Linked DNA regions of Homo sapiens: regions 2, 3, 4, 5, 6 and 7 are each linked to region 1. Evidence: promoter capture Hi-C in 16 types of primary human blood cells and fetal thymus (Javierre and others, 2016). All regions are on one chromosome and are shown on one strand. Each heading gives the region's core, a stretch centred on a gene start or on the middle of the fragment in contact. The rest is flanking DNA. Distances are from core to core; before and after follow the strand shown. Region 1 holds the start of CCNG1 (cyclin G1). Region 2 has its middle 45 kb from the start of PWWP2A. Region 3 overlaps PWWP2A (PWWP domain containing 2A). Region 4 holds the start of PWWP2A (PWWP domain containing 2A). Region 5 holds the start of CCNJL (cyclin J like). Region 6 has its middle 24 kb from the start of CCNJL. Region 7 has its middle 3.4 kb from the start of C1QTNF2.

Evidence for each region. The method cuts DNA at HindIII sites, captures the fragments that hold promoters and counts their contacts. A CHiCAGO score of 5 or more calls a contact.
Region 2: a fragment that was not itself captured here is called in contact with the fragment with the promoter of CCNG1 in region 1 in 2 of 17 cell types (non-activated CD4 T cells and total CD4 T cells); the score reaches 8.0 in non-activated CD4 T cells.
Region 3: a contact is called between a fragment that was not itself captured here and the fragment with the promoter of CCNG1 in region 1, in 2 of 17 cell types (non-activated CD4 T cells and activated CD4 T cells). The highest score is 8.2, in non-activated CD4 T cells.
Region 4: the fragment with the promoter of PWWP2A here is called in contact with the fragment with the promoter of CCNG1 in region 1 in 3 of 17 cell types (naive CD8 T cells, non-activated CD4 T cells and activated CD4 T cells); the score reaches 7.8 in naive CD8 T cells.
Region 5: a contact is called between a fragment that was not itself captured here and the fragment with the promoter of CCNG1 in region 1, in 2 of 17 cell types (fetal thymus and erythroblasts). The highest score is 6.0, in fetal thymus.
Region 6: a fragment that was not itself captured here is called in contact with the fragment with the promoter of CCNG1 in region 1 in 1 of 17 cell types (naive CD8 T cells); the score reaches 5.4 in naive CD8 T cells.
Region 7: a fragment that was not itself captured here is called in contact with the fragment with the promoter of CCNG1 in region 1 in 2 of 17 cell types (activated CD4 T cells and total CD8 T cells); the score reaches 7.7 in activated CD4 T cells.

Annotation. Positions count from the first base shown.
Region 1 is chr5:163,436,005-163,439,110 of GRCh38, reverse strand. It overlaps CCNG1 (cyclin G1), which reads right to left and starts at 1,516. Exons shown (of 7, transcript NM_004060.4): 1 at 1,307-1,516. It also overlaps a transcript of LOC105377700 not described here. RefSeq lists enhancers at 952-1,151, 843-1,420, 1,862-1,911 and a silencer at 1,592-1,671. The HindIII fragment of the contact is 4,161 bases long and covers 1-2,781 here.
Region 2 is chr5:160,072,408-160,075,513 of GRCh38, reverse strand. It overlaps a transcript of PWWP2A not described here. Among named protein-coding and RNA genes, the nearest start is that of PWWP2A, 45 kb to the left of the region's middle. The HindIII fragment of the contact is 4,000 bases long and covers 1-3,106 here.
Region 3 is chr5:160,095,200-160,098,305 of GRCh38, reverse strand. All of the region lies in intron 1 of PWWP2A (PWWP domain containing 2A), which reads left to right. Among named protein-coding and RNA genes, the nearest start is that of PWWP2A, 23 kb to the left of the region's middle. The HindIII fragment of the contact is 7,889 bases long and covers 1-3,106 here.
Region 4 is chr5:160,117,867-160,120,972 of GRCh38, reverse strand. It overlaps PWWP2A (PWWP domain containing 2A), which reads left to right and starts at 1,523. Exons shown (of 2, transcript NM_001130864.2): 1 at 1,523-2,168. The coding sequence starts at 1,585. RefSeq lists silencers at 1,398-1,447, 1,608-1,707, 1,808-1,987, 2,108-2,527 and an enhancer at 1,472-1,971. The HindIII fragment of the contact is 17,972 bases long and covers 1-3,106 here.
Region 5 is chr5:160,311,585-160,314,690 of GRCh38, reverse strand. It overlaps CCNJL (cyclin J like), which reads left to right and starts at 2,127. Exons shown (of 6, transcript NM_001308173.3): 1 at 2,127-2,327; 2 at 2,719-2,833. The coding sequence starts at 2,768. RefSeq lists silencers at 1,909-1,968, 2,079-2,198. The HindIII fragment of the contact is 841 bases long and covers 1,120-1,960 here.
Region 6 is chr5:160,335,012-160,338,117 of GRCh38, reverse strand. It overlaps a transcript of CCNJL not described here. Among named protein-coding and RNA genes, the nearest start is that of CCNJL, 24 kb to the right of the region's middle. The HindIII fragment of the contact is 6,065 bases long and covers 1-3,106 here.
Region 7 is chr5:160,372,488-160,375,593 of GRCh38, reverse strand. No RefSeq gene overlaps it. Among named protein-coding and RNA genes, the nearest start is that of C1QTNF2, 3.4 kb to the right of the region's middle. The HindIII fragment of the contact is 4,183 bases long and covers 1-3,106 here.

The sequences.
Region 1 (3,106 bases), core at 267-2,766:
CTGTTATTTATTTCCCTTCTACAAGTTGGTCACATCCTAAATTGAGTTCCTAGAGGGAAGGAACCATGCTTTTTTTTTTTTTTTTTGAGAAGGAGTCTCGCTCTGTTGCCAGGCTGGAGTACAGTGGCACGATCTTGGCTCACTGCAACCTCCGACTCCCTGGTTCAAGCGATTCTCCTGCCTCAGCCTCCCGAGGAGCTGGGATTACAGGCATGCGCCACCGCGCCCAGCTAATTTTTATATTTTTAGTAGAGACGGGGTTTCACCATGTTGGCCAGGATGGTCTCGGTCTCCTGGCCTTGTGATCTGCCCGCCTCGGCCTTCCAAAGTGCCGGGATTACAGGCGTGAGCCACCGCGCCCGGTCGGAACCATGCTTTTTAGAAAAATAAAATGCAAATCTTCAAGAAATACTTGTTCAAGTTATTCACTGTCAATAGATAACCACGAATAAACACCGTAAGACAGGATACCGAAAGTGAAAAGCAGATGGTAGTTAAGTATTCTGCCACATATTAACAAAATGAACTGTTCAAGTTACTTAATTGTACTTAGTTCCACATTGATAAAGTAGGGATAAGGTTTATGACCTACCTCACAGATTTGTGAGTTAAAATGAAATCACGTAAAGAGCTTAGCACATACAGTAGACGCTTAAAAAACACTGAACAATAATAATGAGCTTGAGCTTCTTTCTAGATTTATAAAATGAGGGTAACAATATCTGTCGCTGAATGTGAAGACTGAACAAGATGATTCACCACTTAAAGAGTATAGCACAGTGCTTGGCACACAATACTCAATATTACTTAACTTTTATTGTTGTTAGGAAAGGAAACTTAAAAGGTGACATTAGGAGCACGTATTGGGGCGGGGGGGTGCGGTGGGTTGTTGCTAACCTAGTCTGAAAGATGAACCTGGGAATTCCATTGATTTAAGTGTGCATAACACAACCATGTCCCGGGCACAAGCTAAGCCCTGGATACATGGAAGGTCCCTCCCACACCAACTAAAGACAGGAAGGCAGGAGGTCTTCAGAGCTAGTCATGTGAGGAACCTCTAACTGCAGGGGTTCCATTCTTCCTCCCCAGGCTAGTCCCTGGGACTGGGTCGGCAGACACGAAAGGCACCTCAGGAGGCCGGATCCGGCTCCGCCCCTCCAGCCTCGGACTAGCCTGGGCTTGTGCTCACAACAGCGGTAGAGTTTAGTGTGGAAAAGGGCGCGGGCCAGACCTACTCCTCGCCCCGCGCCCCCAACCCAGCTCCCCACCCGCACCTGGCGGTCAACTCCCGCGCAGTCCCACTCACCTTGACAGAGACTGCAGCTCCTCAGCGGTAACCACCCTCCCCGGGCCTGCTCACCTCACCCCACGATATCAGATCCGAGAGGCCTACGAGGAGAGGGGACTCGTAGGCAAGAGGAGAGAGGCCCGGGGAGGGGGACTGTCCTGGGTGGAGGCCTCGGCAGCGCCGCCGAGACAACTCGGCCCTGATCAGGGTCAGCTCGGAGCCGAAGGGGCCGCGCCTGCCCTAACGAGGAATATATTGGAGGGCGGGGCTTTCTCGCGAGAAGGGGGCATTTTCGCCGCTGATTGGTGTAATTCTTTTGATGGATGGCCTCCGCGATCCGTAAACGGCTGGGCCGTGGAGTGAGAAGTCCGGCCAATCGGCTCACACTTCCCGTTATCTGGCCTCAAATTCCCCGGCCCCCTTCCACGCCCCTACCTCTAAGCGTCTCTCATTGGAGAATTTAACAAAGTGTCTTCATTCAGTAGGGGGCCAAACTAAATACTCGGTGCAGCAACCCTCGCCTGGGTCAGGTCAATCGGCTGCCAGCCGGATTGGCCGGCGTATCATTCCAGAATGTACTGTTTGTTCTGTGGGGTTTAGGAGTTCTACAGTGGTTCTGCCCCATCTTTCTAAAAATACAGTGAGTAGTTAAAAAAAAAAAAGTCAACCTTTGATTTTTAATTACAGATAAAGAGGTGGTGGAATTTATATGGTTTGGTGGTTTATCAACTTCCAGAGTGCTCTCTTCGTGAACTTTGGAAGTCAGTTGATTCTTGCCTTAGTTTGCTTTTTATACAATTTATCAAATAATGGAGTTGGACTGTGTAATTTCTTGACCCTCTACCAATTTTCTGAATTTGCTTTTAAAGCAAATTTAAAGAGAAAAGTTGGTACAATTTTTCAGTTGCTTAAAATGAAAGGTATGTGGCAGACTGTTAACAGGAATAATTGTGGTGAGTGTGAATCTCAGTCTACAGACCCGAGTGTAAAGCAGTATTACTCTTTGTATTTACCATAATGAATTTAATCTCTGTGAGCCTCTCCTATGCCAGATTAGTGGGAAAATAATTAGCCTGAACTCTTCTTAGACTCTCCTCACTCTCACTCTCCCAGATCATCACAAGTGAGAAAAGTCCATTTGTAAAAGGGCCTGAAAAAGGGTGCACAAGGAGTCATTTCTAAACTCTTATGAATTACACAGTAGTTGGATGTCTCTGTTCTCATGGCCCCAGTTCGGTCTCTCTTACTTTGAAAAAGTGAAAATCTGAAAGATTTGCCGTCACTCTGCTATTTGCCCTGCCGTGTACTTACCCAAGGCAATGCCACAGAACAAAACTCTGGAAAGGGGGAAAAGGGGTGGGGAGGAAGGGGAAGGAAAAACAGGAGAAAACATCAATACCTCACAATAATACCTTAGCCACATAATCAGGTCAGTTTAAGAAACTGGGGCTCAAATGGGGAAGAGGCCTTTGTTCCTTTTGAAAATAAAAGCTTACCTAGTGAATATAAATTGGCAATTTATAACCTTTAACAAGTGATTTTATTTAAAAATACTTTTTGCTGTAATGTGTGAGTTTATAAATGTAGTTTCTCCTTTTGGCTTTTAGTTCCTATTATTCCTAATTCCTAAAATTAGGAATGTATATGCACAATTTTTAAAAAAAATGGCTAAAAAATCATAAAATCTTTATGGCAGGCTGGGCGCGGTGGCCCACACCTATAATCCCAGCACTTTGGGAGGCAGAGGCGGGTGGATTACCTGAGGTCAGGAGTTTGAGACCAACCTGGCCAACATGGTGAAACCCCGTCTCTACTGAA
Region 2 (3,106 bases), core at 219-2,718, 3.4 Mb after region 1:
GTTGCTTCTTTAAGAGCCCAGCACATTGAGTGAGAGGTCAAGGGTTTGACCTAAGAATCAGAAACACTTGGTTATCAGGAAAAAATTAGCCTTTTAAAACCTACAGACAGTTCACAGGACTGACCCAGAAACTTAGGTCAATGTACTTTTTTTTTCTGTTCAAGAAAAGCAATCCTTTGGCTGCCTGTTATTCCAGAGTACATGAAGGCTTTAATCTCAAACATTCTCCCATTTCAGTTTATTTAAATGAGTGTAAAAAAGAGACCACAGGAATCTGGCTCTGCTAATATCTTTTTTCTCTCAAATTTCTCACTAATGAAAATGGAACAGGGAGAACCAGGGAAGATTAACAAGCCATGTGCTCATTATCTGAGAGGGCCTACAGGAGACTCATACTGATCCTGGTCATGTATACATGTATCAGTATATTTATAGACACAACTCCTACAAGATGGAGGGAATGAATGATGGAACCAATAGAAGCAACTGAAAATCTTACCAATGCTGGCCTTCACATAAGAAAGCGTAAGTTCATTTTTCCTTTTTCAAGTAAAGATTTTTTTTTTTTAATTTAAATAATAGAGACAAGGTCTCGCTTTGTTGTCCAGGCTGGTCTCAAACTCCTGGGCTCAAGTGATCCTCCTGCCTCGGCCTCCCAAAGTGCTGGGATTATAGGCATGAGCCACTGCACCTGGCCATGATTCTTTTATCAGAATAAGAAATTATTTGAATAAAGAGGTTTTTTTTGTTTTTTTTTTTGTTTTTTTGAGACGGAGTCTTGCTCTTGTTGCCCAGGCTGGAGTGCAATGGCACGATCTTGGCTCACTGCAACCTCCGCCTCCCGGGTTCAAGCAATTCTCCTGCCTCAGCCTCCCAAGTAGCTGAGTTTACAGGCATGCGCCACCACCCCTGGCTAATTCTGTATTTTTAGTAGAGATGAGGTTTCTCCCTGTTGGTCAGGCTGGTCTCAAACTCCCGATCTCAGGTGATCCGCCTGCCTCGGCTTCGCAAAGTGCTGGGATTACAGCGTGAACAACTGTGCCTGGACTTTATTTATTTATTTATTTATTTTTTTGAGACAGATTTTCGCTCTTGTTGCCCAGGCTGGAGTGCAGTGGTGCGATCTCGGCTCACTGCAACCTCCACCTCCTGGGATCAAGCGATTCTCCTGCCTCAGCCTCCCGAATAGCTGGGATTACAGGCATGTGCCACAACTCCCAGCTAATTTTGTATTTTTAGTAGAGACAGGGTTTCTCCATGTTGGTCAGGCTGGTCTCGAACTCCTGATCTGAGGTGATCCACCTGCCTCAGCCTCCCAAAGTGCTGAGATTACAGGTGTGAGCCACTGCCTGGCCAGAATATGTTATTTTTTAAGCATCCTTTTCTCTAGTGATTAGCATGCTGCCAAATCTTTGCTTAATCGGAATGAAATTTTTTTTTTTTTTTTTTGAAACGGAGTCTCACTCTGTCACCCAGGCTGGAGTGCAGTGGCACGATCTCGGCTCACTGCAACCTCTGCCCCCTGGGTTCAAGAGATTCTCCTTCCTCAGCCTCCTGAGTAGTTGGGATTACAGGTGCTTACCCCCATGCCCGGCTAATTTTTGTATTTTTAGTAGGGAAGGGGTTTCGCCATGTTGGCCAGGCTGGTCTTGAACTCCCAACCTCAAGTGATCCACCCGCTTTGACCTCCCAAAGTGCTGGGATTACAGGTGTGAGCCACCGCACCCGGCTTGGAATGAAATTTCATGGCCTTAACAATTCCTTTGCTTTGGTACCAACAAGGTAGTGAGCTTGGGGTAAAGGAGAGTATGATTCAGGAAAACTGTGCCAGAAGAAGAGAGAGCTGGCCAAACAGTGGGAAGACATTGTCTTTAAGCGTTAAGAGTACTTTCAGGGTTAGCCCTTTCATTATTTCCTTGTGAGGCAAGTTTGTAGAAGCAGCTGTCTAAAGGAGGGAAAGTGGCTTGGTGATGTTAAAGATGTTTTTGGCCGGGCATGGTGGCTCACGCCTGTAATCCCAGTACTTTGGGAGGTCGAGGAGGGTGGATCATGAGGTCAGGAGATCGAGACCATCCTGGCTAACACGGTGAAACTCTGTCTCTACTAAAAATACAAAAATTAGCCGGGCGTGGTGGTGGGTACCTCTAGTCCCAGCTACTCGGGAGGCTGAGGCAGGAGGATGGCGTGAACCCGGGAGGCAGAGCTTGCAGTGAGCTGAGATCGCGCCACTGTACTCCAGCCTGGGCAACAAAGTGAGACTCCGTCTCAAGAAAAAAAAAAAAAAGAAATGTTTTTATACTAATAACCTGCCTTAGTCTAAAGAGGTAGGAGACATGGATTCTGTTATCAGTTCTATCAATGACCTTTGACAGCAAAGTCACACAGCAGCCTTATTGGCAAAATGAGGTGTAGAAATCCATCTCACCAAGCTCTTCAGTTCCTACTCAGCCAAGGCCGAAACCCCTGGGGAGATGTTAGGATTTTTTTTTTTTTTTTTTTTTTTTTTTTTGAGACGGAGCCTCGCTCTTGTTGCCCAGGCTGGAGTGTAATGGTGCAATCTCGGCACACTGCAACTTCCGCCTCCCAGGTTCAAGTGATTCTCCCACCTCAGCCTCCCGAGTAGCTGGGATTACAGGCACCTGCCATCATGCCTGGCTAATTTTTGATTTACTTATTCATTTATTTATTTTTGAGACGGAGTCTCACTCTGTTACCCAGGCTGGAATGCAGGCACCTGCCATCACACCTGGCTAATTTTTGTTTTATTATTTATTTATTTATTTATGAGACGGAGTCTCGCTCTGTTGCCCAGGCTGGAGTGCAGTGGTGCAGCCATGGCTCACTGCAGCCTCAACCTTGTGGTTCAAGTGGTCTTCCTGCCTCAGCCTCCTGAGTAGCTGGGACTACAGGTGTGCACTACCACCCCGAGCTAACAAAAAAAGTATTTATTTTGTAGCGACGGGGTTTCTCTGTTATCCAGGTAGTTCTAAACTCCTGGGCGAAAGCAATCCTCCCACCTCGCCCCCCGCAGGTGCTGGGATTACAGGCCTGAGCCACTGTGCCCAGCTCATAAACTGCCCCTTGAAGGGTTGTAAGCAGTCATTCT
Region 3 (3,106 bases), core at 273-2,772, 3.3 Mb after region 1:
TCCCCTTTTTCCCCCTTATTGTAGTTTTCACTCATCATTACACAATTAGGTGCTTCTTCCCTATGTTACTAAAAGCATTTAACGCTTGAGTATTTTGTATGCTTATGTGGGAACAGCAGAGAATAAAAACAATCCAGTTGCGAAATATTAACATTCTTACTGAACTTCATAAAGATAAACATACCAGATTCCATTACTTGATATAAACAGCTATAAAATAATTGGCTGGGCCATACTTGCATTGAGAGTATAAATTAAAGACATGGGAAGGAGCCTAAATTCTAGCAAAATTGGCTGGTTGCAGTGGCTCACGCCTGTAATCCCAGCACTTTGGGAGGCTGAGGCTGGTGGATCACTTCAGGCCAGAAGTTCAAAACCAGCTTGGCCAACATAATGAAACCCCATCTACTAAAAATACAAAAATTAGCCAGGCGTGATGGCTCGCGTCTGTAATCCTAGCTGCTCAGGTGGCTGAGGCATGAGAATAGCTTGAACCCAGGAGGCGGTGGTTGCAGTGAGCCGAGATTGTGCCACTGCACTCCAGCCTGGGCGACAGTGAGAGTCTGTCTCAAAAAAACAAAACAACCGCCCCCCCCCCCAAAAAAAAAACCTCTAGTAAATTATTAGGTGTTTTTTGTTTTTGTATTTGTTTTATTTATTTTTATGTTATGTTATTTGAGACGGAGTCTCTCTCTGTTGCTAGGCTGGAGTGCAGTGGTGCGATCTCGGCTCACTGCGACTTTCACCTCCCGGGTTCAAGCGATTCTCCTGCCTCAGCCTCCCGAGTAGTTGGGACTACAGGCGCGTGTCACCACACCCAGCTAATTTTTGTATTTTTAGTAGAGACGGGGTTTCACCATGTTGGCCAGGCTGGTCTTGAACTCCTGACCTCAGGCCTCCCAAAGTGTTGGGATTACAGGCGTGAGCCACTGTGCCTGGCCTTTTTTTTTTTTTTTTTTTTTTTTTTTTGAGACAAAGGCTTACTCACTTGCTCAGGCTGGAGTGCGATAGCGCGAACATGGCTCACTGAAGCCTTGACCTCCCAGACTCAAGCAATCCTCCCACCTCAGCCTCCCAAGTAGCTGGGATCACAGGTACATACCCCCACACCAGGCTAATTTTTCCTATTTGTAGAAACACGGAGTCTTCCTATGTTGCCCAGGCTGGTCTCAAACTCCTGGGCTCAAGCAATTTGCCCACCTCACCCTCCCAAAGTGTTAGGATTGCAGACGTGAGCCACTGCATCAGGCTGTAAGTTACTAGTTTGAAAATAAGATTAAATCACTTACATGAAGCAAATTAAATAAAGTAAATATTAACCAAGGAAAATGGCTGCCGCGTATTCACCTATTGATCTTTATCTGAATCCTTTTAAGGTCAGAAATAGTGTTTCATTTTACACATGCAAAAATGAGTTTAGAGGATACAAACAGTTGATAAAAGACAGCTGTGAAACTTCACCTCAAACATTAAGATAAGTATGGTTTAGTTAGTCCTAATAAAAGGAAGGGAGCCAGGCATGGTGGCAGGTGCCTGTAGTCCCAACTACTTGGGAGGCTGAGATGAGAGGATTGCTTGAGTTCAGGAGGTTGATGCTGCAGCAATCCATGATTGCACCACTGCGTTCCAGCTTGAGTGACAGAGTGAGGCACCGTCTCTATAAAAAAATTTTATAAATCAGTAAGAGGAAGGGCACTTCTCTTCATTCAGGTATTGAAACGTGAACATGTGATGGGGGCAAAATTATGCCTTCTTACAAGTTAGAAAATGTTATTGTTAATGCAAGTAGTGATATCACATCAAATAAGTCACATTGTTTATGTTGGTTCTGCATTAAAACACAAGAAGCACCTCTTTTGTCCTGTCATCTTTTGAAAAAGTGGTTAATGAGCACCTATGTACTGTGTAAGAAAGGGTTAAATGCTTAAAGTTACTTTGAGTTAAGTAGTCAGGAAGCAAACACTTGGTTACCAGAAGTTAGAATGGAGAAAGCAACTTTCTGTGCAGTCTGATACAATAGGAGGTACCTTTCCTTTTTGGACTATCCGAGACCTAATCTTGTCTTACCGTAGGTAAAAAAAAAGCCTTTCCTTTTTATGTTTTGTAAGTATTTGCTGTAAGTTGTTGGTTTGTGGTAGCCAGACTAACAAAGAATTTTGGGAAAAAAGTATTCAGGTGCTAGAATAATACCTGGTGTATGCTGGCTCTTTGTAAATCCTGCCCACGTTTAGGTTTGTCCACAGCTGTTAGTACCTAATATCAAGATTTCTTCCTAGCAAAGGTATTCTGAACCTTTTTGGGAGCATAAGAACATTTCTGGCTGGACACGGTGGCTCACGTCTGTAATCCCAGCACTTTGGGAGGCTGAGGTGGGCAGACTGCTTGAGCTCAGGCATTCGCCTGGACAACATGGTGAAACCCTGTCTCTACAAAAAATACTAAAATTAGCCAGGCATGGTGACGTGTGTCTGTGGTCCCAGCTACTTGGGAGGCTGAGACGGGAGGATTGCTTGAGCCTAGGAGGTCGAGGCTGCAGTGAGCTGTGATGGTACCACTTGCACTGCAGCCTGGATGACAGAGTGAGATCTTGTCTTTAAAAAAAAAAAAAAAAAAAAAAAAGAACATTTCGGAGAATCTGAGCACTGAAGATTTGTAGTGTAGAAAATATAGACATATATAAAACACTGGCATCTAGTTTTGAAGGTTCCACGTGACTGACTACCTGAAGCCAATCTTTGGGTTTAGATCTAAGCCCCTTTGCCTTACAGGATTGGCATTACAGTTGTATTGTGTTAGATATTGTTGGAATCAAATAGTGCATATAGTCAACATGCTAACCTATATGCTGAAATTATTTGGTAGTGTGATTTGATTTTATGTGAAGAAAACTTAGTATAGCAAGTTTATTTTAAGGATCAGGTTCTTGATATTCAGCCCAGGCACGTTAAGCCACTGTTATTTCTAACTCTATTTATGAAATAAGGTTATTAGAAACTGAGAATTTTAAAGATTCGTATTAGATACCATGGTTTGCAAACAGAGTCTGGACCCGTAATGGAGTTTTCAAATCAGTTTAATGGGTCTGACTAGCCTTAAAGCAAATGAA
Region 4 (3,106 bases), core at 274-2,773, 3.3 Mb after region 1:
ACAAAATGAACACTAAGTACATTTGTTTCTTTCTGTATTTTTAAATGATATTCTGAAACTTCCCTGATTGGGATCTTCTACTGGCCTTTCCCCACGAGCCACTTGGTTTGAAATAGGCAGAGCATATGGTGATATTTGTTTATTGCTATTTTCAGTCTTTTCCATGTAAAACTGAAATTCTGACTATGCAATTTACCAGCCGAGTAACCTTGGGCACCCTCTTTGTGCCTCAAAATTTTAAGGATTGAGATGATATGCTATAGTGTTTGTATTAGTGCCTGGTACATGGTACTCAAAAGACACTAGCTGTAATTATTCTTCAGGACTTTATTTTTTTTACTTTCATTGCTAGCAGTTTTTCTACCCTCTCTCCTGCAGGCATTCTCCCAGAAAAAAGGCTGACTCTGTGGTGCCATTTGAGAGAAATAGGTTCAGTAGATTCTTCCAGAGATGACAAACGAAAAGACTTGATGTGGAAGTAAGAGAAGTAGGGGCGTCAGGACACTGAAGTGAGAGATCTTTTGTTCTCGTGGCATTGGAGAAGCCAGGAAAGAAAAAGGCTTTAGCAGGGACCAGGTGCGTCCACTTTGCAAGTGGATTTGGAGAGAACAAGCAGTGTTCACATATCAGTCCAGCAATGTCTCAAGACTCCTTCCTGGAACAGTCATCAGTTTAATCCAGTGAGGATGGTGTCTCTCTTCTTTCATGAGCATTTTCCTATTTCTGAAATATTAATAAATAGGTGCTTTGTTCCTAGGAAGTGGAGAGAAGTCAAGGAAAATACTCATCATACTCCTAGAAGTCAAGGAAAATACTCCTCGTACTCCTCATGGCCGCTGGAGCCCGCTGCTATGAGGTTATGGAGAACGTCTTGAACATTCCATTCCCCAGCACCTAGTGCAGTGACTAGCATAGTAGGCACTCAAAAAGTGTCTGTAGGATTGTATTTCAAACTTTAGTTGTCTTTCCCAAAGAAGCCTGTCGTGCCCACACGCGGCCGCAAGAAGTCCGCGCCTAGAAATAACATTTATTCTAAGGATCTCTGCGCAGAGATTCTTGGGAAGCGGTTCCCCTCCCGCATTCCCTTGTTACTCCTCCCCTCGGCCGCCTTTGAAAGAAGTGGCACGCCACATGATTCCATCCTTTCTCCCACCTCCAAAGACCTGGCTGATAATGGGCAGGAGCGTAGGCCAACCATAAAACTTTATTTCCTCTTCCAGCCAATAGCAAGAGGCGATGAGTATATGGCTCCTCTTTTGTGACTTCCCCCGCCCCCTTTGATTCCGCCCCCTATTCCTCCACTCAGATTCCACACTTGACAACACATCTGGCCAATGAGAAGTTCCTACTCTGCGTGGGAAGGATGGACTGACTAGATGATAGACGTCCATCCCTGGCCAATGGAATATCAAAAGTGCGGGAGGGGTGTAGAATGCAACCAATGGCGAGGTGCCAGAAACGAGCATCAGGGAAAGGGCGGGACGAAAGTGTTCGCGGGAGGGAGGGGAAGGCCCAGGGAACCAAGCAGCGCTGTCGCCGCCGCCGCTGCAGCCGGAGTTGGAGGAGGGAGAAGCTAGGAAGAAAATGGCGGCCGTGGCTGCAGAGGCGGCAGCGACTGCAGCGTCCCCCGGGGAGGGGGGCGCCGGCGAGGCCGAGCCGGAGATGGAGCCCATCCCCGGCAGTGAGGCCGGCACTGACCCCCTCCCGGTCACGGCCACTGAAGCGTCTGTGCCGGATGGCGAGACTGACGGGCAGCAATCCGCTCCTCAGGCCGACGAGCCGCCGCTCCCGCCGCCACCGCCGCCGCCGGGGGAGCTCGCCCGCAGCCCAGAGGCGGTGGGGCCGGAGCTGGAGGCTGAGGAGAAACTGTCCGTTCGGGTGGCGGAGTCGGCGGCAGCCGCGCCTCAGGGAGGGCCGGAACTTCCACCTTCTCCTGCATCGCCGCCGGAGCAGCCCCCGGCTCCCGAGGAGCGCGAGGAGCCGCCGCTGCCTCAGCCCGTAGCCCCGGCGCTCGTGCCGCCGGCGGGCGGGGACTCCACGGTGTCGCAACTGATCCCGGGCTCGGAGGTGCGGGTCACGCTGGACCACATCATTGAGGACGCGCTTGTCGTGTCGTTCCGCTTCGGGGAGAAGCTCTTCTCCGGGGTCCTCATGGATCTGTCCAAAAGGTACCGCGCCCGCCCCCAGCACCCTCCGGTCCGCTGGGTCCCCAGGGAGGGAGTGAGCCCGGGCGGCCCCCTCTCCCCGAGCCCTCGCTTCCCCGCTGCCCGGGGCCCCGCCCTCTGGTCCTGCGCGGCGCGTGGCGCGCGCTCCGAGTGGGGCAGGCGCGCGAGACCGGGAGAGGGCGGTCCCGGCCCCAGGTGGGCGCCTGCGGGGCAGGTGTGCCACCAGGTGGGAGGGTGCAGGTGCAGATGGGCTCACAGGTCTCACCCCTCACGCCTGGTCTTCTTCTGCGACTTGGCCTGGAGTCACCGTCACTGGGCGGGTGGGTTAATGCAAGATGCAGATGGATTTTTGCAGAGAACGGAGTGTTGGACGGGGGGACGGGGGGGCGGGGGGCATTGCTTGCGAGGAGGCACTTGTCTGTCCTCTAACGTTTAACTTTAGCGGGATTGGAGAAAGGGGTGTGTACATTGGGGTTCCCAAAAGGTTACCTGTCACTCCTTACAGGGGGAAGAGCATTTGTTAAAATGAACCTTTTAACTGTAATTCTTACGGTTAGAAGTCATTCCCGTTAGGTTAACCATTCAACAGAGAAGCATATTTTGCTAATTTTAATGATAGTTTAAGAAAAGTTTAAAGAAGAGATTGGAGATTTTTAAAAAATCCTTTAATGTCAAGGTGGTGTAGCATAAAAATGTTCAAGTAACTTCTAACACCTGGGATTCAGTTTATGTATTAAGGACAAGAAGGTTGAGTTCATCTACAAATTTGGCTTAACCACATTTTCATTTTTTGATTTAAAATGTTTTTGGGCTCTGCTTTCAACAGGGGAAGAGAACCTGTTCTAAGTCTGGAGTTAACCTTTTTATTCTCTTCTTTTGCAGATATGAAGTGCAGAGACTCCCATTCACGGCTTTCCATTCTGTTTCCTGCAACAGCACAC
Region 5 (3,106 bases), core at 291-2,790, 3.1 Mb after region 1:
TCAACCTTTTGTCACATTTGTTAAAAATATTTTCTCAAATTTGTCGTTTGCCTTTTTGGCAATGATAATTGATGTATCTAGATCCTGCATATTTATTCAAATTTGTCTACTCACCTTGCCTTTGGTTTCTTCCCATGTCTTAGTATCTAGGCCTTCCCCTCCGTATAATTCGTGTATGTTTTCTTCTTATCCTCTTGTGATTTGCTTGTTTGTAGTTCTCTGAGTTCTTATATTTATTTTGGTGATATTTAAACAAGTCCTTAGTTTTACTTTTTTCCCCCAACCTAATTTATTAAATAATTTAGCCGTTTATACTTGTCCCAACAAAGTGAAATGCCACATTTATCATACAGTGAATTTTTAAATATATTAAATTTTCCTAGACTTTCAGTTATTCCACTGATGCTTAATCCATCCATTCTTGTGTGAACACTACACTGTTTTAACTATAGTGTTGCAATATGCTTTAAGATTTGATAATACAGGTCTGTCCCCCCAGTTTTTTTGTTCGTTTGTTTGTTGAGACGGAGTTTCACTCTTGTTGCCCAAGCTGGAGTGCAGTGGCACGATCTCGGCTCACTGCAACCTCCGCCTCCCAGATGCAAGTGACTCTCCTGCCTCAGCCTACCAAGTAGCTGGGATTACAGGCGTGCACCACCACACTCGGCTAATTTTTTGTATTTTTAGTAGAAACAGGGTTTCACCATGTTAGCCAGTTTGGTCTCAAACTCCTGACCTCAGGTGATCTGCCTGCCCTTGGCCTCCCAAAGTGTTGGGATTACAGGCGTGAGCCACCGCGCCCCGCCATCCCCCCATTTTTAAAATATAAATTTCTTAGCTTTTCTCGCAGATATTCTCCCATTTGAAGGTTAGAAAACATGTTAAGTGCCCCCTCCTCCAATCTACCCACAACCATTAAAATTTTATTAAATAGAGTAATTTGGGTTAAGTTGGTGTTTGTGCCTCTATTCCTTCAAGCCTTCTTTATTATGTTTCAACCTTTGTAATGTCTTCATTAAGAGCCTGCACATTTATTCAGTTTATTTTTAGGTATCTTACACTTTTAAAATGGTTCGTTTGTTTTACATTAAAACTGCTCTTCAAGGTCCAATTGAAGCTTATCAAAGCTGATTTAATTTTTTTTTCCCAGGTGTGTCTTTATGTGCAGGAAAGCAGTCAGAAACTAAAGGCTCTTCAGTCACAGTTGTTTACTGAGTGTTCACTTAATACCTGGTGTAGTGATTATCCCTTTACACGCATTATCTCCTTTAATTTTCAGCAGGTTGGTTTAACTTTTATTTCCATTTTACACACGAGGCTCTGAGTTTGAGGAACTTGACAAAAATCACCCAGTTGGTAAGTGGATTTGATTCCAAATTTGTGAATCTCCAAAACTATCACAAAAATCAATCAGCCAAGAAGGATAGCCCAATGCTATGCCATCAGATGGGCTGACTCAAAAGGATGACTTTCCAAAAGCAAGCAATTGAATTAAAAAGACAATGTTTTCCATCCACCGGACCCGGCAAAAAAAGACTGGTTTTCCTCCAATGTGAGGCATAGTTCATATTCTGCAGGAGCACAATAATACCAGTGACTTAGGCTCCTTTAGAATTAGGGACTCGTGGGTGAACAAGGGTGGTTTTTCTGCAGCTTTCACTGGAATTGTCCGTTTGGAAATCTACCTCCCCATGGCAGGGCGGGTTTCAAAGAAGAGGAGAACAAACAAAAAACAAAAACAGGAAAAAAAAAAAAAGAGAGAGAGAAAGAAAAACAGGTGGAACCGACGTAAGGATGGCTAGAGCAGTGCGCGCGGAAGGCAGAACTTTCTGGGGGCGTCCTGTCCGCACGTTTCACGCGTGGTGCGCGCAGGTGGCGCCGCGGTCCCTTTGCTCCCTGCGCAAGCCGGAGGGGTGCCCAGAAGGCTACCACTAGCCTCAGCGAAGGTGAGAGAGAAGCTTTCCGCCGAAGCGAGGGAGGAGGGCGGGCAGGAAGCGGAGCCAGAGCTGGCAAAGAAAGGCTCCAATTCCCAGCCCCCCGCCCCGCGGGGCGCGGGGGCGCCGGCAGCGCATGCGCGAGGCCCGGCCCCCAATTCCCCCAGCGAGGGAGGGAGGCCCCCGGCGGCCGGGAGCCTGCGAGCCGCGGCGGGACCCGAGCGCACGCAGGGGCGCGGCGACGGCGGGGGCTAGTCGGGCTGCGGAGGCGGCCGTCGGGAGTGCGGAGCGCCTCGGACGAGGGTCCAACCGCCGGCAGGCACCAGAGGGCACGGCTGGCTCGGCACTGGGAGGGGCCCGGCGCTCGCAGCCCCCCACGCCCAGAGAGGATGCGTGAGTTTCGCCCCGGCTCGAGGGCAGGATGTGGGAGCAGGACAAAGGCTGGGCGGCGGGGGAGGAGTTGGGGACGGCGAGCCTGTGGCCGCCGCCAGAGCCCCAGCCTCGAGCGAGCTAGCGGAGTTGACAACTTTCTCTGCAACTTTTGCAAAAGGGAAGATAAAAATTCTGCAAGTTGTTGCACAGCTCCATATCGCCCCGTGTCCGGCGAGCAGAGGGGAGGGGGCACCGCAGCCTTCCGCGGACCAGAGGCGACCTCCAGCTCCTCTGAGCGGCGCAGGAGGGGGCGCCCGCCGGGGCCCGGGGCCAGGGGCGAGAGAGGATAGGGACACCGGGGGTCGGAGCCCGGGGTACGCTCTGGCCGCTGAAGTTGCCCGTGTCCACGCAGGGTGCGCCCTGAGAGCCGGGTAGCCTCGGATAGCGGCGCTGCGTACGCGATGATGGATGAGCCGTGGTGGGAAGGGCGCGTCGCCTCGGACGTCCACTGCACCCTGCGCGAGAAGGTCAGTCCCTCCCTGCCCTTGTCACTCTCAAGACTGGGTACAGTCTCCTTCGGTCTCGACTTCGTGTTCTCAGGTCGCCTGCGTGGGAACTCAGAACTCCCGGGTGCCTTTTTTTCCTCTTACCCTTTACCTTCTCCCGGAGTGTCTGAGCGGAATTGGGGGGCGGGGGTTAGAGACTGGAGATGGGAGAGATTGAAGTTGGTTTTTCTGATAAGGAGCTCAGAACTCTGGGCCAACTAGTCAGAGACAGCCACTGTACCTCTAAGGCAGTGT
Region 6 (3,106 bases), core at 197-2,696, 3.1 Mb after region 1:
TTTATAGAAAAAGTTCCCACATAGGTTTCCAATCAAACATGTTTATGCAAATGAAGGATTCAAACTTGCTTAGTTCTGAATTGTTGATACAGCTGAGTTCTGCTTGATTGATACAGCTGAGCCCTGATTGGCTGAAGTAGGTGAGCTCTGGTTGGTTGAGGTGAGCCCTGAAAGTCCCAAAATTAAACGGAGGTGAGGGGTGTTTGCAGAACTCAGAGTATGTGTGTGATCTGTAGTCAGCAAATGGTCATTTGGCTCTATTTTAAATTTAGGCCCAGTTAGCCACTCAGGATCTATCTTGAAGGATTGGTTCTTTCAGGTTCACATTTGTTCACAATTCACTCATTTCCAACTAAATATTAAGAAGAACACGTAACTGTGCTGATTGGGCCTACTTTCAATTCATGCCTACAAATCTCCAATGGCACAAAATGTAACCTGGCAACATTTTGTTGGAAGGAGCTCTACCAGCTCCTTCCCAACCCCCGACATTCTCAATGCAACGTCCCTAAGGTGGGAGTCAACATGGTTGGCTCAAGGAGCAGAGTAACAGGAAGAGAGTGGCAGGTGATGACCTCAGAAAGGTTACAAGCACCCAGATCATGTAGGGCCCTGCAGAACTGGTAACCACTTGGCTTTTATGCTGAGTGAGACGTGAAATAATTGGAGGGCTTTGAGCAGATGCGCGATGAAGTCTGGTTTCAATTATAACAGCATTCCTCCAGCTACTATTTGAGAATAGACTGTGAGGGGCAATGACAAAAGAGGGAGACAGGAGATTAGTTTAATAATCCCAGCAGCCAAGTTCGGTGGCTTACACCTGTAATCCCAGCACTTTGGGAGGCGAGGCGAGACAGAAGGATCTTTTCAGCCCAGGAGTTCAAGACCAGCCTGGGCAACATGGTGAAAACCTGTCTCTACACCCTAAAAAAAAAAAAAATCAAAAATTTGCCGGGCATGGTGGTACGTGCCTGTAGCCCCAGCTACTCAGAAGGCTGAGGTGGGAGGATTGCTTGAGCCCAGGAGGCAGAGGCTGCAGTAGTCCATGATCGTGCCACTGCTCTCCAAGCTGGGCAACAGAGCTAGACCCTGTCAAAAAAAAAAAAAAAAAAAAGAAAGAAAAAGAAAGAAGGAAGGAAGGGAGGGAGGGAGGAAAAAAAAAATCCCAGCAAGGGATGATGGGAGCTTGGCCCCAAGTGGTTGCAGGAAAGAGGTAAGAAACGATGTAATTTTGGCCGTCTTTGGAGATAGAGCCAACAGGTTTCACTGAGTATTTGGATGTGGCCTGTGACGGAAAGTGAAGGGTCAACACTGACATAAAGGTTTTTGCCTGAGCAACTTTAAGGCTGGAATTGCCCTTCACCAGGATGGGAAACACTGCTCCTGGGAGGAGTGGGAGGAGCAGGCTCTGTGGATGGGAGCAGGAGGTGAGTAAATAGAGTTTGTTTTGAGAAACATTGTGTCAGAGATGTCTATAAAACATCTGTGTAAGTTTCCTAGAGCTGCCATAACAGATTACCACAAACTGTGGCTTAAAACAACAGAAATGGATTCTCCCACAGTTCTGGAACCCAGAGTCTGACATCTACATGTCAGCAGCAGGGCCGCGCTTACTCTGAAGGATCTTGGTTGGATTCTGTTCCTTGCCTCTTCCAGCTTCTGGTGGCCATCAGCATTCCTTGACTTGCAGCTGCATTGCTGCAGTCTCTGCCTCCTTGGTCACACAGCCTTCTCCTCTTCTGAGTGGTTCTCCTCTCTTTGTGTCTTATAAGAACACTTCTATTTGACTTAGGGACCCTCTTAGAGATCTTCTCACCTCAAGACCCTTAATTACATCTGCAAAGACCCTTTTTCCAAATAAGGCCACATTCACAGGTTCCAGACATTTGATGTAGACATATTCTTTTGAGGACTGTCATCAACAACTAAGTTGAGATGGCAAATGGGTAGTTGAATGTATGAGTCTGGAGTTCAGAGAAGAGTTCTGGACTGACGATATAAATTTAGAAGTCCTCAGTCTATAGATGGCTTTTAAGCCATGGTTCTAGAGAGATCACAAGGGGGAAGAATTCAAATAAAGAAGGGGAGAGTCTGAAGACTGAGTCCTGGGACACTCTGGTATTTGGATTGTGGACGATGAGGAGGACTGAAAAGTAAGTGGTTGCTACAGAGCTAGAAGAGAATCAAGAGACTGTGATGCTGGAAACCAAAGATACTGTTAAAAAGAGCAAGGGGTCTGGGTGTAGTGTCTCATGCCTGTAATTCTAGCACTTTGGGAAGCTGAAGCGGGAGGATCACTTGAAGCCAGGAATTTGAGAATGGCTTGGACAACAAAGCAAAACATTGTTTCTACAAAAAAAAAAAAAAATTTCAAAAAAAAAAATTAGACATGATGGCATTTGTCTATAGTCCCAGCTATCTGAGAGGCTGAGGCAGGAGGATCTCTTGAGCCCAGGAGTTCAAAGGCTGCAGCGAGCTATGATCACGCCACTGCACTCCAGCTTGGGCAACAGAGACCCCATCTCAAAAAAAAGAGAAAGAAAGAAAGACGAAGGAATGATCAACCATATCAGATGATGCAGACTAAGTGTTGACCATTGGCTTTAGCAAGATGGAGATCAGAGACCTTGAAAGAGCATTTTGGGTGGAGGAATGGAGGCAAAACATGCCCAGGCAAGAGACAATAGGAAGCTGTACTCTAGCAACTTTCTTGTGGATTCTTTGGGATTTTCTGTATATAAAAATATATAAATTCTATATATCCAGGTACATAAAAATATAGATATATAAATAGATCATAAACTATATAGTCTACATTATATATAAACAGATATATTAAAATGTAATTTTTCTTTTAGATGGAGTCTCGCTCTCTTGCCCAGGCTGGAGTACAGTGGCATGATCTCTGCTCACTGCAACCTCTGCCTGCCAGGTTCAAGTGATTCTCCTGCCTCAGCCTCCCCAGTAGCTGGGATTACAGGCGCATGCCACCACACCTGACTAATTGCTGTATTTTTAGTAGAGATGGGATTTCACCATGTTGGCCAGGCTGGTCTCAAACTTCTGACCTCAAGTGATCTGCCCACCTTGGCCTCCCAAAGTACTG
Region 7 (3,106 bases), core at 287-2,786, 3.1 Mb after region 1:
AAGATTCAGATGCAGCATAAGTGGTACTTGTCCTCCCAATCTGACCATTTTCAAAATGCAAGAAGTGTCACAAATCACTACATGATTACTATCCAAATGGGTGATATAGTTGTGAAGGGATTTAGACAGTGATGTGCTGGTGAACAGGCTGGGGGCTGGGGTAGAGGAAACAGTGCTCTGATTTGTAGAATTTGCTGATTTCATGGTGTGATTACTTTCACATTACCAACATGACATCACTAAACTCAGAGTTGGGAAGAGATGCATGGAATTGGCTGCTGGGATCCACCAAACCACAAGTTAAGAATGCAAAGAAGGGATTTTCTTCATACTGTTCTATGCTGAGAGGACTTCATAAAAGAGGAAAGATTTGGACTAGGCATTGAAGGATATTGATTAGGACTTTCCATGGTAACTGACAGAAACAATTCAAACTAGCTTAAAGAAAGAAAAAGAATATGAGAATGAACCTGTTTTAGCACAAGTATCTGAAAAAAGGGCTTTAATAATGTAGTCATGGCACTTGCTCCACCTTTCAGTTCTTCTTGAATCTACTTCTATTTGTGTATTCATGTCATTGTCTCCTGCCATAAGCAGGCTGTCTCCAAGTGGCAGGAAAAACATGGCTAGTGGCAGCCCAGGGGCTACCTCTTTGCAGTCAACAATTCAAAAGAAAAGCAATGCACTCTTATGGAGATCACGTGGAAAGACTGATTGGCTCACTTGGATCTCATGCCCACCAATTCAACTCCTAACTGGGCAGAAAGGGAAAGGGTATGTAATTCACATGCCCCTGGCACTGTAGCCAGAGAGCAGACAGAGCACTAAGATAGACCTCTCTTCCCCTACCACCCAAAACACATGAGAGTCATCCAAACAGAGTTCACCAATGGAAAAAGCCATGAATTTCTGGTAGAAATAATGGTAAGGCTTTGTGGAGAGGTAGAAGAAGATATAGTAATTAGAGGGAATGGCATATGTAGGTGCAGAAATGTAAACATTGATGGTGCATTTGGGAGTCAGTGAGAAAACCACCCTGAGCAAAGCAGAGCTTACCTATAAGACAGTGGTTTGCAACAGAGGGCAATTTTGCCCCTCTGGAAAGATTTGGCAAAGTCTGAAGACATTTTTGTTGTCCCAGCTGGGGTCGAGGAGGGCTGCTACTAGTAGGTAGTATCTAGTGGGTAGAGGCCAGAGATCCTGCTAATCCTACAATGCATAGGACAGTCCCCTCAACAAAAAAAGGCTGAGTTTAGGCTTTATCCTCTGTTACACAGGGAAGCATTAGAAAGATATTTAGAAGGACTAAGGTAGCTTGTACATACCCTGCTCCTTCTGCCTGGCACCACTCCTCACCTTGGCTACCTTTGTATGACTAGCCCTTTTTTATCCTTTGGGACTCAGCTTAAATATCACCTACTGAAGAGATCATCTAGACTTTTCAATCAAAGTAGGTTATCTCACAGACTTCATACCGTTATTCTTTCCCATGTTTCCCTCTTATTTTCACCACAATTTTGAATTATATGTTTATTTGGTTGCTGGTTTCACATCTGTCTCATAAGGAGAGACCTTCCTTATTCATTCATCACTGTGAGCTCAACATCAAGCAGAGTGCCTGGTGCATTGTAGTTGCTGATATTTAATCAATGATTAATCTGAAGGTTGATGGGAGGATTGAAATGGGGTTGAGCATAGGAGGTGGATAGAAAGAGGAAAGAAGGCAGTCCTCTAGATTTCTTCTCTGCTTGTTCTGATCCACACTCATCTCCTTTCCCTGACTTTCACAGCACCTATAGTTCATAACATGACATGTCAGTTAGGATTTTAAGCAGACATGAATTTAATAAAAAGAATCAAATAGACTCAGAACCATTGCAGAACAAGTTCTGGCTTGGGCTTGCAGGAATGAGTCCCAAAACCTGCCGTCGTACTAACCCCACCACCCCAAGGGATGTGGCCTTCTGCCACAATCAGGAGGCCGGCGACTGGCCTAGTCTGACTACAAGAACACAACATCTTAGGTGTAATCTGGGGATCAGGAACTGGCAGAACTCTAGAGTCACACTGCATCTTCCAGGTCACCACCAGCAAAGTGGATTCCTCCCAGGCTGCTACCTCCTCTTCACATAACTGTTTTTGTTTTTTGTTTTTCTGAACACAATTTTGAATTCAGGTCTTTCCCAGGTGCACAGGACTGGCTAAACCTAAATTATAATGGGAGCCCCAACAGCAAGGAGTCTAGGAAATGGATTTTTAGCTTTCTAGTCTCTGTTGTATAGGAAAGCACACCAAGAAAAGTTTGGACAATTGTGGAACAAGCCAATCTGCCACATCTGCCTCATGGCTGCCCCGCTCTGTGGCCATCAATGTCATAATATCATTCGTCTTCTCTAGGTGGATACTAGCATGTTCTCTAGATGTGAATGGATGTGAAATGAATTGAATGAAATCGAAGGGGAAAATCCTCCTCTTTCATGTTCACACTTTGCACCTTTCCTATGGCACTTAATTGTATTTTGCCTCCTGGTGTAATTTGTGTTCTCATTCAGAAGTTCATCTCTTTGTCCCCATACTCATAATAGGTAATAAATGTTTATAGACTGTGGCCGGGTGCAATGGCTCACGCCTGTAATCCCAGCACTTTGGGAGGCCGAGGCAGTTGGATGACATGAGGCCAGGATTTCAAAACCAGCCTGAGCAAAATAGTGAAGCCCCATCTCTACTAAAAGTACAAAAATTAGCCTAGTGTGGTGTTGCGCGCCTGTGGTCCCAGCTACTTGGCAGGCTGAGACGGGAGAATCGTTTGAACCCGGGAGGTGGAGATTGCAGTGAGCTGAGATTGTGCCACTGCACTCCAGCCTAGGCAACAGAGCAAGACTCCATCTTAAACAAACAAACAAACAAATGTTCGTAGACTGAATTCAAGCAGAGAGTAAAGACAGAGAGAGGCTAGGGAGAGGAAGTTCTAAGCCCCATTCTAGCTTGACACAGTTCCTGCAGCTCGTGGAACTGCCACCGGACAAGTATTTTGGATTGCATGCTACATGAAGCCATCACCACTGCAAGGAACCATAGGACAGGGACCCAGGAACTCTGCTAGGCT